Regions from separate parts of the Homo sapiens genome. Here region 2 is linked to region 1. Evidence: promoter capture Hi-C in 16 types of primary human blood cells and fetal thymus (Javierre and others, 2016). All regions are on one chromosome and are shown on one strand. The core of a region is centred on a gene start or on the middle of the fragment in contact, and the rest is flanking DNA. Distances in the headings are between cores, read along the strand shown. Region 1 holds the start of ODAPH (odontogenesis associated phosphoprotein). Region 2 overlaps LOC105377282 (a long non-coding RNA gene).

Evidence for each region. Contacts are between HindIII fragments. The CHiCAGO score rates a contact against its expected background, and 5 or more counts as called.
Region 2: a contact is called between a fragment that was not itself captured here and the fragment with the promoter of ODAPH in region 1, in 1 of 17 cell types (M0 macrophages). The highest score is 5.3, in M0 macrophages.

What each region holds. Positions count from the first base shown.
Region 1 is chr4:75,554,682-75,557,446 of GRCh38, forward strand. ODAPH (odontogenesis associated phosphoprotein) reads left to right here and starts at 1,385. Exons shown (of 2, transcript NM_178497.5): 1 at 1,385-1,468. The coding sequence starts at 1,402. RefSeq lists a silencer at 1,118-1,412. The HindIII fragment of the contact is 3,725 bases long and covers 1,221-2,765 here.
Region 2 is chr4:74,873,358-74,876,122 of GRCh38, forward strand. LOC105377282 (a long non-coding RNA gene) reads right to left here. Exons shown (of 4, transcript XR_938886.2): 3 at 1,511-1,633. Among named protein-coding and RNA genes, the nearest start is that of PARM1, 58 kb to the right of the region's middle. The HindIII fragment of the contact is 1,603 bases long and covers 639-2,241 here.

The sequences.
Region 1 (2,765 bases), core at 135-2,634:
TCCCTTTCACAGGCCAGGCACTGTGGTTGGAGCTGTATGTCAATTATCTCCTTGATATGAAACCAACTAAGTGGCCATCGACCAACGAGTGGATAAAGAAAATGTGGTAGAAATACACCATGGAATACTACTCAGCCATAAAAAAATGAAATAATGTCTTTTGCAGCAACTTGGATGGAGCTGGAGGCCATTATTCCAAGTTAAGTAACTCAGGAATGGAAAACCAAATATCGTATGTTCTCACTTATACGTGGGAGCTGAGCTATGAGGACACAAAGACATACAGAATGATATAATGGACTTTAGAGGCTAGGGGTGGGGGAGGTTGGGAAGGAGGTGAGGGATAAAAGACTACATATTGGGTGCAGTGTACACTGCTCGGGTGACGAGTGCACTAAAATCTCAGAGTTCGCCACCATAGAGTCCATCCATGTAACCCAAAACCACTCGTACCCCAAAAGATTGAAATTTAAAAAAAATTTTTTTTAAAAGCATCTCCTTAATTCACAAATTCCTCTGAGGGTAGTACCACAAGTCCCATTTTACAGGTGAGGCCCCTGAGGCTTCAGCAAGTCTCAGGGACTCACCACAGTCACTCAGCTAGTAAGAAAAGGAACAAAGACTGGAATTTTACCTGACTCCAAGGTCCATGTTCTTAATCACCTGTGACAATCCCCTCTCATATATCCAGCAGCTGATGAAGTCTTTCTCTCAGGAAACCAACTGGACATAGACATGTCATGTCCATTTTATATGCAATATGGTGAATCAGGAGGAGCCGTGAAAGGACGACTCACTAAGTTACTCTCCCAATGTTTATGTTTGTTTAGACAGTGACCATCATGACCACTAGGGAAGATCACTTTCTGATTCTGCTGCCCTCACCTCCTGGACAAAAGCAGAGCAGAGAAGCAGCATAAACCCTGGTTGGGGGCCTAAGAATGATCCCCAACTCTCCACTGCAAACCACCGGGGTCAGGAAGCCTCCGGGTAATGCCCTCTCCCTCTTGTTTCGCTTTTTAAGTAGGTAAGCTGCACAGAGAGAAGCACTGTTGCATATTTCTGGACAGCTTATTTCTCTTGCAGAGGAAGACTGATATACACAACTAAAAGGCACTAACATGGGAGAAGATTTGAGAGATTAGAAGGATGGTGAAGGTGCGGTTGTCCAAAATCCCCCTCTGGGGGGAGATGATTGATATCTGGCTGTCATTCCAAGAAGCTTCTGGTTGACAAATACTGTCTGGTATTTCCTTGCTGATTTCTTACCCTCACACCGCAAGCCCTGATCTCTGTGGTCCACTGTGCAAATGCAAATTACCTGAATCAGGCTGCTGGTGACTCACCAGCTCCCCTTTAAAGCAACATCAGGTTCAACGCAGTGACTGCTCAGTAGAAGCCATGGCTCGCAGACACTGCTTCTCCTACTGGTTACTGGTATGCTGGTTGGTGGTAACTGTGGCAGAAGGTAAGGGTTTTGCTTTTATTCTACTGTGGGTCCACTAATTAATAAGTTGTAGGAAAAGACAAAACTGGCTCCATGATTATACGTTCCCATAAATTGGAAATATTTACCTCAGCTTCCATCAGCCTGTGTGGTTAAAGAGAAGGAAGTTGGATTTTGTCACCTGAAGACCTTGGTCCTCGTCTCAGCAATAGCTCTGTGACTTTAGACACACTTAAAATCTCTGAGTATCAGATTCCTCATATGTGAAGTGACAACATTAACAATATCCATCGTTATGGGGTTTGCAAGGACCAAATGAGCTATCATCTGTGAAAAACTCTTCAAGCTAAAAACACTGTACAAATACTAGTTATTATGGTTACAAAGCTAACAATTCCACTTTGAATTACAGCACTGTCCACTTTCTATCTCCAGCAGCATATTAATTTGCACATGGTGGGTATTTAGTCTTTGTTCATTGCTTTAATTAATCACATCTATTGAGCTGCATTTTGGTGCCACAGAGGTGGGCACAGGTTTCTTTCTTTAGGATTTTATTAGATTCCATTTCTCAACTGTTCCTATTCTCTTTCTTTGTTCCCACTACAAAATGTGTCCTGAGCCTTACAATTGGTTTGCAAACCCCTAGGAAAAGGAAAGAAAAGGCTGGGGAAGGGATGAAAAGAGGGAAATACAAGGGGAGGAAATCTTGGGGAGCCTAGATCTAACCTTTTCTTCAGTTTATTTTAATTCCAAAACTAGATGCTGTTTACGGAAGATGGACCTAGGAGTCAAACAGAGCACTTCACCCCTTTCACATGTCTTGGGTAGGGGGCTTTGCAGGGGCTCAGCCAAACCCTGCTCATCCCCAGACAGATTCCCCGTTCCCATCCCTCAGAGCTCACAATAGACAGGAGGAGGGGAGAGACATAAGAGCTGGTTGTGGAACACTCAGAAACCCCCTGATCCAACCTCTGCACACACTCTGGCAATCAGGGGACAGGGCATAGATTATGAACAAAACCTGCCCCCATATCCCAAGGCAAGGCCCCCAAGCCTCACCTACTAAAAGTGACATCTAAAAGAAGCATCATAAAACAAAACTAGCCACCTGCCACTTTCTCTGCAAAAAGTGAACCGCTCTTCAGGAGGCTTTGTAAACACATAGCTAAACAAGTTATAATGAGATTAGAGATTTATTTTATTCACATCTTAAAAACACCCACTGAGGCTGGGTACAGTGGCTCACACCTGTAATCCCAGCATTTTGGGAGGCCGAGGTGGGCAGATCACCTGAGGTCGGGAGTTCAAAACCAGC
Region 2 (2,765 bases), core at 190-2,689, 680 kb before region 1:
TCATTTCTTTTCTTTAAAAATGACTAAGCAGAAACATTAACTGTGTTTGACCCAAGAATTTAGTAGAATTAATTCAGTGAAAAATCTCTATGGAGATATGTTTTCAGCTTAAGCTGGAGGATTAGTCGAATCTCTGTTTCCCAATCTAATAGTAATGGTGTTAATGCCTGTAAGTGTGGAAATTATAAACTACTCTATAACAGCCATTAAAGTTTTGTTGACCAAATGGCTAAATGAAAAAAACAGGTTAACCATCTCATTAGGAGAAGTGAAAAGTGTTGATTGAGCCAGCAGGGAACTCCGAAAATGATTTCCTCTTCTTGGAGCTACCACCTGGTGCCCTTAGGGTAGACAGAAGTGACATGTTAACCATGTATATGGAAATTGTGTCCAAATGTATTAAGTGAACAAATGTGAAACAGAAAGCTCTGTAGGAGGAACACCTTCTAGCTGGGTTTGGCTAGCCACACAGCTGCTCCTAGGACCCAAGGGCAGCTGCTCTTAGCTCCATTTAAAGAAACCCGTGAGAGCACCTTCAATCTTCTCTTTGTGGGCTAATTACCCAGTGAAGCAAGCAAAGCAGTCTCTGTGTACCTTTTCATTGTACAAAGAAAAATCTCAAAGCTATGTCTTGAAAAAGCTTTAAGAAATGGACTGTGTCCAATTATAAAATAGAGCTCTGGTTACTGCACATACTGCACAGTGATTTGAATTGCATCATCTTCCACATCCCCACCAACAACTCTTGGGAGCAAAATATAAGCCTTAGAACAAATTAATAACTCTTTAGGGTCATGCAACAAATAACATGCTTTTTATCTTAGCCACAAGACTCATTAGCAAACCTGAAGTGGCAGCTGCATGCTCTGGCTTCCTGGATTATTCCTGATCCCAAGAACACTAAAGCAATTGTTCACGATCCTTTGCACTGATATTCTGTAGAAGTATGTTTTTAATAAAGTTCTAGGATAGATATCTTAAAAGACGTGTTACTTTAAAAAAAAAGTTGATACTGATACTCTACCATGCAGGTAACCATATTTATAAAATATTTATGGTGGCATTTCTTTCTGGTTCCCAAAGTATTATATGTTCATGCCTTTGAAAGGAGGAAATACACAGAAAGCCAAAATGGAGATTGTGAAGTTTTACTTGCTTTTTAACTGTGTTTGTTCACTTCATAATATATTATAAACATTTTCCCATGTCATTAAATGTTCTTCTAAAGCGTGAGTGAATAGTGGTACAGAACACTCCAATTTTAACAATTCCTATTTTTGAACATTTGTGGTAGTTCCAATTTTGCTATTATAAATAACACTTTGAGAAACATGCTCATACATAAATCTGTCTGCTTATGTTTCTTTGAGATTATAAAAGTGGAAGCACTGGGTCAAAATATTTTAAATATTTTTAAAGATTTTGATAAGGGTGGTTAAGTTCAAACAGCCACTCTGATTTATGAATAAGAGAAAAGGAAAAATAAATAATCATGCCATGGAGTATTTACTGGAAGGAGCTGAACACAAAATGGCCAAGCCTTCGCTTTCATAGAGTTCTTCATTGCAAGGGCAGTGATTGATCCTTCTTGACCACCAGATGGCAGTAGAGAACACAGCAAACTGAACAAGACCTAGAGGAGAAGAGGAATCCACTCTTATTTAGCCTTATATACTTAGCCATTGGTTTTTCCTTGGGCAACTAGGAAGATTGGGCCTATCATATAAACAAAAAATAAATAAATATTATCAATCAGATCAGGCACAAAGACATTGGAGGAACACTTGCCTTTCATTGGACCTGGTGTTGAGAGCCACTAATCTGTTTTGCTTTATGTTTTCCTAAAGTTCTCTTCACACATTGGTCTCACTGCTGATCTTTTTCTGAAGTAGGTTTTGGTTTCTCTGGAAGCAGCCAAACATTTTATGTGAACCCCTGTACTTGCTCACCAGCTCACAATGAGGCAAAGTCTGGGTAAAATGAAATACTTTCACTAATGTCTTTGGGTTTTCCTATTTACTAGCTAAACAGGAAGTCACCAAGCAAAGAAGAGTGGCTGCTGTGAGATACCCCTCCACATTGACCTTAGACAGTCATTATTATTTATTCTGACTTTAGCGGAAAGAATACTTCCTTGCCTCCTTTTCCTGTCTCTGAGGAAAGGATATTCCAGACTCTAATGCATTTGGAGTTTCCAAAGATATGGTAGAGCTGTTCTCAAGATGCCTGAGACATGCAGAAAGCTTCATGATAGCTAGCACAGTGATGCCACAGCTGCACCAGCCAAATGCAATTGGAGTTTCTATTCAGTTTACTAGTGCAGCTACCTGAGCAAAGTACAGATAAAAAGGAAGTAACAACACAAGGGTGCCTCGTACTCCTGTTACCATTATGAAATTGAACTGAGACTTTAGTCTAGAATTTGCAGAGGCCAATTAGAAGGATTTGTTAAAAATATTAGTGCTCTTATCATAAAAACATCTATATGAACAACAAAAATATAAACAAAGAATAAGTAGTCTACTATTTGAGAGTAAGGATACTAACATCTGTTGAGTAATAATCCCTTCTTAAAACACCTAATAAGGGAGTATTAAAAAAAATGGAGATCAGGAAAAAGTCCTGAACCTACAATCAAAAATTAAATTGTACAGTATATGAGGTTCATTAAGCCACGTTCTTTACATGACTTCAAGTTTCCCTTTAAACAATTGGGCAATTCAGCTGGCAGAATAGAAAAAGTGAATGTTCTTTCGGCCTACACT